3 separate regions of the Homo sapiens genome follow, and regions 1 and 3 are each linked to region 2. Evidence: promoter capture Hi-C in 16 types of primary human blood cells and fetal thymus (Javierre and others, 2016). All regions are on one chromosome and are shown on one strand. Each heading gives the region's core, a stretch centred on a gene start or on the middle of the fragment in contact. The rest is flanking DNA. Distances are from core to core; before and after follow the strand shown. Region 1 has its middle 4.6 kb from the start of CD9. Region 2 holds the start of IFFO1 (intermediate filament family orphan 1). Region 3 has its middle 16 kb from the start of VWF.

The links. Contacts are between HindIII fragments. The CHiCAGO score rates a contact against its expected background, and 5 or more counts as called.
Region 1: a contact is called between a fragment that was not itself captured here and the fragment with the promoter of IFFO1 in region 2, in 1 of 17 cell types (non-activated CD4 T cells). The highest score is 6.1, in non-activated CD4 T cells.
Region 3: a contact is called between a fragment that was not itself captured here and the fragment with the promoter of IFFO1 in region 2, in 1 of 17 cell types (naive CD4 T cells). The highest score is 5.5, in naive CD4 T cells.

What each region holds. Positions count from the first base shown.
Region 1 is chr12:6,194,185-6,197,356 of GRCh38, reverse strand. No RefSeq gene overlaps it. Among named protein-coding and RNA genes, the nearest start is that of CD9, 4.6 kb to the left of the region's middle. The HindIII fragment of the contact is 278 bases long and covers 1,422-1,699 here.
Region 2 is chr12:6,554,487-6,557,441 of GRCh38, reverse strand. It overlaps IFFO1 (intermediate filament family orphan 1), which reads left to right and starts at 1,400. Exons shown (of 10, transcript NM_001193457.2): 1 at 1,400-2,185. The coding sequence starts at 1,413. NOP2 (NOP2 nucleolar protein) reads left to right here. Exons shown (of 16, transcript NM_001258308.2): 16 at 1-571. The coding sequence ends at 449. RefSeq lists silencers at 1,223-1,382, 1,433-1,672, 1,783-1,962 and enhancers at 2,423-2,923, 2,924-2,955. The HindIII fragment of the contact is 7,963 bases long and covers 27-2,955 here.
Region 3 is chr12:6,138,794-6,141,619 of GRCh38, reverse strand. No RefSeq gene overlaps it. Among named protein-coding and RNA genes, the nearest start is that of VWF, 16 kb to the right of the region's middle. The HindIII fragment of the contact is 753 bases long and covers 1,008-1,760 here.

The DNA of each region.
Region 1 (3,172 bases), core at 311-2,810, 360 kb after region 2:
CATTCCTAAATAAGATAGCTACAAAGATTTTTTAAAAAGCTATGCACTTCTCGGCCGGGCGCAGTGGCTCACGCCTGTAATCCCAGCACTTTGGGAGGCCAAGGTGGGCGGATCACGAGGTGAGGAGATCGAGACCATCCTGGCCAACATAGTGAAACCGCATCTCTACTAAAAATACAAAAATTAGCCAGGCATGGTGGCGCATACCTATAATCCCAGCTACTCGGGAGGCAGAGGCAGGAGAATCCCTTGAACCAGGGAGTTGGAGGTTGCAGTGAGCCGAGATCGCGCCACAGCACTCTAGCCTGGCGACAGAGTGAGACTCCGTCTCAAAAAGAAAAAACAAAAAAAGCTATGCACTTCTTGTTGGGCGCTGTGACTCACACCTGTGATCCAAGCACTTTAGGAGGCCGACGCGGGAGGATCATGAGGTCAGGAGATCAAGACCATCCTGGCTAACACGGTGAAACCTCGTCTCTACTAAAAATACAAAAAAATTAGCCGGGCGTGGCGGCGGGCGCCTGTAGTCCCAGCTACTCAGGAGGCTGAGGCAGGAGAATGGCGTGAACCCGGGAGGCAGAGCTTGCAGTGAGCCGAGATCGCGCCACTGCCCTCCAGCCTGGGGGACACAGCCAGACTCCGTCTCAAAAAAAAAAAAAAAAAAAAAAGCAGCTATGCACTTCTTTCACAATTTGCCCATGAGGAAATTTCTGGTGGACCCTATGATATTTGCCCTAAAACAGTTCTGTTGAATTTCACCATGACAATGTAAATTGATAGCATATCTTCACAGGTACAGAAAAAAGGACAGAACTCAAAGTCATCCCTCTGCTCACCTGAGACAAATGCATATCTGATTGCTTCCTCCAATGTAAAAATGAAGATTCGCTGTGCTAGACAAGGCATAAGTGACTTATTTCTCTACCCTCCTCTGCCATGTAAATTGTGCATTCAGTGAGAGGATGATCAGTGACTCAAAAGAATGCAACCGTTTGTTTCTTACCTACCCACACCTTAAAAAAACTTTCTTCCTCTTTCCCCACCAGCCGCCTTTTAAATATTGAAGCCCTCAAAATCATCTTTGCAGAAGGCACAGATCTGCCTCCTGGGCGCCCATCTGTAACCTTGGCAAAATAAACTTTCTAAATTGATTGAGACCTGTCTCAGATACTTTTTGGTTCACAGCATTTTGGATCAGGAGGTGTCTTTCATTCCTCCTGACATTCTGTGTCACAATAAACCCCTGGGCCAAAGTGCATTTGTTACAGACAGTTAGTGCTACAGGCAACCAGGAAGGTGAGCGATGGAAAAATTATGTTTTGCCTTAACCGGAAGAGGAAAATATGGGTAAGCCCCTGAGTCAGAAATCACATGGAAGCAGCCAGGCCTTCCAGGCTTTGTGGTGCTGGAGTGGGAAAGCTTTTCCTCCCTTCCCTCAAGGCGTCCTGTCTCTGGGAAAGAAACCCCAGCTCAGGCTCAGGGTCCACTTTGGCTCTTGTGCCCCCCCTGGTGGTAAGATTTGAACACGCAGAGGCCAGGTGACCTAATGAGCCGTCACACCCATGCCCCAGGTCCCTCCAGCTGTGGGCAATGGCTTTGTAAGGCAACAGGTAGGACCCTCGCTCTCACAGGCCACCAAGGCCCTTCCAGCCACCACACCAGTGGCCATCTTGATTCACCTCCTTCACTTCTAGAAGCTTCTCTCCTGTTCCTCTTTCTAAGCTCAAATACACCACCTTATGAAGCCTTCCTGGAGCACTCCAGTCTTTTTCTCCGTGGATTACCTTGAGTCTCGCATGTGTGATTCTCTGGTCATCATCATCTTCCTTTATGTGTCCACTTCTTGGTAGTGAGCTCCTCGAGGGTGCACTTGCATTTGATTAATTTCTGTGCTCTCCCTAGCTCCCGGTCCCTTCCTGGCCCAGAGCAGGCCCTCTGCAAACATCTGCAGAATGACGGCTGGGCGTGGGGCTTTCTCAGGCCCCTGCCCTTCTCTCTCAGACCTCTCCTGGAGCACTCATCCCCTTTTGTGCCTTCCACCATTTTCTCTGTTTAACTCATCTCTCTGTAAATGCAAGTCCTGATATCCAAGAGCCTGCAGATTTTTTTTTTTTGAGACCAAGTCTCGCTCTGTTGCCCAGGCTGGAGTGCAGTGGCTCAATCTCGGCTCACTACAACCTCCATCCCTGGGCTCAAGAGACTCTCTTGCCTCAGCCTCCCAAGCAGATTGAATTACAGGTGTGCGCTGCCATGCCCGGCTAATAATTTTTTTTTTTTTAGACGGAGTCTCGCTTTGTCACCCAGGCTGGAGTGCAGTGGCACGATCTTGGCTCACTGCAACCTCTGCCTCCCGGGTTCAAGTGATTCTTCTGCCTCAGCCTCCCAAGTAGCTGGGACTACAGGCGCACACCACCATGCCCAGCTAATTTTTGTATTTTTAGTAGAGACGGGGTTTCACCATATTGGCCAGGCTGGTCTTGAACTCCTGAATTCGTTATCTACCCACCTCAGCCTCCCAAAGTGCTGGGATTACAGGCGTAAGCCACCGTGTTTTTTATATTTTTTATATTTTTTATATTTTTAGTAGAGATGGGGTTTCCTCCTGTTGGTCAGGCTGGTCTTGAACTCCTGGCCCCAGGTGATCCGCCCACCTCAGCCTCCCAAAGTGCTGGGATTACAGGCGTGCGCCACCGTGCCTGGCCCGTTTCCACTTCTAACGGCCCTCCAAATAGGCCCACGTTCCAATCCCCAAAACTGTGAATGTGTTACTTTCCATGGCATAGCCTGGACCATCCCAGTGGGCCCAGTGGAATCCAAAGGGTTCTTATAAGAGACAGGTGGAAGTGTCAAAGCCAGGGAAGGAGATGTGACGACAGAAGCAGAGGTCGCAGTGATGCACAGCTGTGTGTTGGGGAACAAGGACAGCCTCTAGAAGCTGGAGAAGGCGAAGAAACGAATTCTCCCCTGCAGCTGCCAGAGGGATCCAACACAGCCCTGCCCACCCATTTTAGATTTCAGACCTCTAGAATTGTGAAATAGTAAATATGTGTTACTTTAAGCCACTAAATTTGTGGTTGTTACCGAAGCAATAGGAAATATAGTAATCTCAATGTAAACATCAAGATCAGAATTCATAATCTCCAAGGGCTTTCTAGGCTCGCAGCTGACTTTC
Region 2 (2,955 bases), core at 151-2,650:
TACCTTCTGTCACAAAGACCCAAGCTTCCTCCAGCTTCCAGGATAGCAGTCAGCCAGCTGGAAAAGCCGAAGGGATCAGGGAGCCAAAGGTGACTGGGAAGCTAAAGCAACGATCACCTAAATTACAGTCCTCCAAGAAAGTTGCTTTCCTCAGGCAGAATGCCCCTCCCAAGGGCACAGACACACAAACACCGGCTGTGTTATCCCCATCCAAGACTCAGGCCACCCTGAAACCTAAGGACCATCATCAGCCCCTTGGAAGGGCCAAGGGGGTTGAGAAGCAGCAGTTGCCAGAGCAGCCTTTTGAGAAAGCTGCCTTCCAGAAACAGAATGATACCCCCAAGGGGCCTCAGCCTCCCACTGTGTCTCCCATCCGTTCCAGCCGCCCCCCACCAGCAAAGAGGAAGAAATCTCAGTCCAGGGGCAACAGCCAGCTGCTGCTATCTTAGATGGTTGAAAACTAGACGGGTGGCTCACTGCCATTGTCACCAGGTTGGAACTCTTGCCTCTGTGAGGATGCCTTCTCTACTGTGCATACCCATGAAATTTAATACACATTTTAAAACCTCTGGCCACTGAGTATTTTTGAGGGAACTGGGTGCTGCCTTTGCCGCTTTAAGGGTAAAGATGGGAGGTGGGACTGGGATCTTCTGAGGAGAGGGAATGGTTGGGTGCTACTGAGAAATAAGGTCAGTTTTAGGCTCCTGCATCCTTGGGTTTTCCCAGGAAGGGAAAGCCCTGGAGTCAGAGCTAGGGGTGATTGAACTCCGGGGAGAGGAGGGCAATAGAAGTGTAGGGGAAGGCGGGGCACACTAGCTCATGCCTGTAATCCCAGCACTTTCTGGGAGGCCAAGGCGGGTGGATCACCTGAGGTCAGGTGTTCGAGACCAGCCTGGCTAACATGGCGAAACCTCGTCTCTACTAAAAATACAAAAAATCAGCCGGGTGTGGTGGCGGGTGCCTGTAATCCCAGCTACTCGGGAGACTGAAGCAGGAGAATCGCTTGAACCTGGGAGGCTGAGGTTGCAGTGAGCCAAGATCGCGCCACTGCACTCCAGCCCGGGCGACAGTGAGACTCGGTCTCAAAAAAAAAAAAAGTCGTGTAGGGGAGATGGGCTTGCCACCAGAACCCATGGGGTACTGGAGGTCCTGGGCTTTACGCCACCCCGGCTGGAGTCCAGGCGGTGGCTCCCCTCATCACAGGGCTCGGCCTCAGACCCGGAAAGGTCCAGGGTCCGGCCTCCAATTGGAGCCTGTCATTGGCTTCCCCTCGGCCCGCCCCCTGACCTCTGCCCCGCTGCCGAGCCGCCTGATTGGTCGGCTCTGTCCCGCCGGCGCCGCATTGGCTCTTCTGGCTCGCCTTCCATCCCTGCTCCTGCACCGGTCTGCATCTCCCAGCAGAAGGCGCAGCCATGAATCCGTTATTCGGCCCCAACCTCTTCCTCCTGCAGCAGGAGCAGCAGGGCCTGGCCGGGCCACTGGGGGACTCACTGGGAGGCGACCACTTCGCCGGGGGAGGAGACTTGCCCCCGGCGCCTCTCTCGCCGGCCGGCCCTGCTGCCTACTCGCCGCCCGGGCCGGGCCCGGCCCCGCCTGCCGCCATGGCCCTCCGCAATGACCTGGGCTCCAACATCAACGTGCTCAAGACCCTGAACCTCCGGTTCCGCTGCTTCCTGGCCAAGGTGCATGAGCTGGAGCGCCGGAACCGGCTGTTGGAGAAGCAACTGCAGCAAGCGCTGGAGGAGGGTAAGCAGGGCCGGCGGGGCCTGGGTCGTCGCGACCAGGCAGTGCAGACCGGCTTCGTCAGCCCCATCCGGCCCCTGGGGCTGCAGCTGGGCGCCCGGCCGGCCGCTGTCTGCAGCCCTTCGGCGCGCGTGCTGGGCTCGCCCGCGCGCTCCCCGGCCGGCCCCCTCGCGCCCTCCGCGGCCAGCCTCTCGTCGTCCTCCACCTCCACCTCCACCACCTATTCCTCGTCGGCCCGCTTCATGCCCGGCACCATCTGGTCGTTCTCGCACGCCCGCCGGCTCGGGCCGGGACTGGAGCCCACTCTGGTGCAAGGGCCTGGCTTGTCGTGGGTGCACCCGGATGGGGTGGGCGTCCAGATCGACACCATCACGCCCGAGATCCGCGCTCTCTACAACGTGCTGGCCAAAGTGAAGCGGGAGCGGGACGAGTACAAGCGGAGGTAGGGATTGGGAAAGGGGGACAGGTCTCTCTGTGTCATACCACTCACAACGGGCCGCGAGTTGGTGTGGGTTCCGAAGAATCAGGGGTGAAAAGAATGAGAGTAAAGTTTGTGCTGTGTAATGAGGAGCTTGGAAGCAATTGGATGCAGGGAGACTAGAATCCGCAGAGAATGCAGAAGCCCTGCTCGTGACAGGAAGAAGGACGCTGGGAGCGGAACACGGGGGGATTCCTACTTTTCCGGCTTGTCTCTGCCATCCAGGCTTAACTGCGGGTTTTGTGCGGTGTGAAAGGGACTGGGGCTCTGCCCTACCGGTCTCAGCCCTGGGGCAGGTTAGGGATATAAACTTCAAAAGTAGGAGGCAAGGATATAGCGTAAATTTGGGAGACTAAATTGAGTGAAACTGGAAGGGGCTGGTGAGGGAGGGGCTGTACCTTGCAACGAGTGATTCTTTCACACCCCAAGGTTTCCCAAAGAATATTGATGGAAACCAGGTACCTGCTGTGGTTTCATAGGAAAAGCTCCGGGACCTCAAGCCATTGCTTGAGTAGGTCAACAAACTGGGAAAAGAAAGAGTGAAGGGAATTCACTAGGGTGAGGGTGGAGAGCAGGGCTGACAGGGGAATCTTGGCAGTATAAAGCGCCAGTGGGGAGGGAGAGTGGAGAGCCAGCAGGGGACTGAGCAGGGAGAAGCTGGGATATGGGCCCTCCCTAGGACCGCGAGGCCGCGGGGCGGGCCCGGTGCATTCTGTGGATGAAGATTTGGCTGT
Region 3 (2,826 bases), core at 135-2,634, 420 kb after region 2:
TGCCTAGGCTGATCATTGTTTTTAAAATTTCTATCTTTACTGATTTTTATCTGCCTGACCTATGGATAATTGAGAAAGCCTTTTTGAAGTCAATTGTCAATTTATGTATTTTGAAGCTATTTTGTAAGATGCATATAAATTTGAGTTGCTGTAACTTTCTGCCTCTCAAATTAGAACCCCAGGTCTTGAGATAGTGATTCTGGGGTCAGGAATCCTGCTGTGCTACTACTGGGGCCAGGAATGCCACCAGATGTAATGGTCTGAGTTCTCTGTAGCTCGATAGCAGCAATAATGTGGTGTCATTGTTCCTGAGAACCAGGGAAGATGAGTCTGAAGCTGCACCATTCTTCTGACATTGTAGCGTGGGTGGGTCCTCTCTATTTTGATGATTGTGAAGGAAGTGAGCATGTTATTCTTGCACAAGATGTTTGTCTTTAGAAGAGAGGAAGTAGAGGAGGACAGCTTCCTCTCCGCTGGGGGCTACAGCTTTATGCTGGGAGCTGGTCGTCTGGCCTAAGAAATACTGCTGTGTTTATTTATTTGGCGCATACTGCCAAGAAAATTCTCTTTCCTGCAGAATTTACGTAAGAGAGATGCTACAAATATACAAAGAAAAGACAAAGATGGGTCCTCCTAGAAAACCTTTCCTCCCCTGAGGTTCTTTTGCTTTTGTACTAGTTACCTGGAGAACTTACTCCTCAGACAGGCAGAGGTCAATTTACCCATCCCCCTGCCTCTGAGCAGCCCTGCCCCATGCGCCCCCAGAGGTCACGCACCCTTCCCATTTGTACTTAATGCTGTTTACATCAGCCCAAGTTCTAATGGCTCTCATACTGTGGTCCTCAGGGATCCTTCTTCCTTGAGCCTCACAGCACTAATTGTCCTCTAACTTATTTGGCAAAGCTGCCTTGGGACACCCTCCATGAGGGCAAGGGAGCAGGTTGTGTGGCATGATATCTTGGCCTATATTAGTTTTCTATTGCTGCAGTGACAAATGACCACAAGCTTAGTGGCCTGAAACAACACAAATTTATCTTACAATTCGTAATTGTAAGAAGCTCGAATTGGATCAAAATCAAGGTGTGTTGGAAGAGCTGGATTCCTTCTGTAGGTTCTATGGGAGAACCTGTTCTTCGCCTCTATCCACTTCCAGGGGCACACATTCCTTGCCTCGTGGCCCCGCGTTGCATGACCTCTGCTCGCATCATCACATCTCCTTCCCTGATGCTGACCCTCCTGCTCCTCTTATAAAAACTCTTGTGATTATATCGGCCCAGCAGGATACTCTGGGGTAAGCCAGGATCATCTCCCCATCTCAAGACCCTTAACTTGCTCACATCTGCAAAATCCCTTTTGCCATGTAAGGTAGCATTCAGAGGTTTGAGATGGGATGTAGACATCTTTGGCTGTTCTTCTGCTACCGTAATGTGTTACGTGGTTGGCTGTATCTGCTCTTCTCTTGTCAAACCCATGGTCTCCTCCAGGCCCTCGTCTTCCCTGTCCGGGAAGGTTCCACCAACCACTAATGGATCTCCCTTTCTCCATCTGACCTCTCACAATACATGCCACTGCTGCCAGAGGGCCTCATCTGGTGTCACAGGATGAACATAAACCCCTACACTGGTTGAAGGTCCCTGAGGACTTGCCTCTTATTCCTCTCTTTGGTCTCTTTTCCTGTGAGTCTCCTTTATAGGCTGTAACAACTGGCTTATTCACCTACTTACTGATTTAGCATCTCAGAGCTTGCCTGCTTCTAAGCTTTTACTTCCTTCCTTGCAGCTGATGTGCCTTTGCCCTCATTTTCACCTGGCAAAATCCTACTCAGCAAATGGGTAATTAAACCATTGCAACCATTATAAACCATTGCAATTTTTCAGGGGGGCCATTTGGCCTTATTGTCAAAGGCCTCACTGAAAATGTGGACGGTGGCTGACCCAGTGCTCCACATGTAGGATTTCATCCTGTGGGAGTAATCCTGAGGGTTGTGCATGGATATAGCTTCAAAGATGTTCACTGCAGCATTGTTAATTAAAAAAAAAAAAAAGTAGGCCGGGAGTGGTGGCTCACGCCTGTAATCCCAGCACTTTGGGAGGCAGAGGCGGGCGGATCACGAGGTCAGGAGATTGAGGCCATCCTGGTTAACGCGGTGAAACCCTGTCTCTACTAAAAATACAAAAAATTAGCCGGGTGTAGTGGCGGGTGCCTGTAGTCCCAGCTACTCGGGAGGCTGAGGCAGGAGAATGGCATGAACCCAGGAGGTGGAGCTTGCAGTGAGCCGAGATTGCGCCACTGCACTCCAGCCTGGGTGACAGAGCGAGACTGCATCTCAAAAAAAAAAAAAAAAAAAAAAAAGTAGCACTAACCTAAATAAATATCCCATAATATGGAACTGGTTACATAAATTGTGGAATATCAGTAAGTGAACTATTCCAGCCAAGTGTGTTATACTCTGATAAAACAGACACTTGAGTGTTATTTAGAAATAGTGCCAGAGTGTCATATGAGTTACAGGCGCAGAATACCACATGGGAACGTGACCCCAGTCTGATGTCCCTGCCCCCTTGCAGAGCCATCCTGTGACTTTCACCGTGCAATTTCCCCAACCACAGTGACGAGTGCTATCTTCTGTGCTGATGATTTGGAGAGCAGGCAACAACTTCCTTGGGTATTAAGCAATTTTTTTTATCTGCAGTTTCAGTTCTGTAGCTACATTTTAATATTATATGCTAATTAACCCACATCATTGTTCTACTAGCAGGGAGTTCAACAGACATTTATGGAGCACTTACCATGTGCTATGCTCCAGACAGAGCACTTTGGAAGATA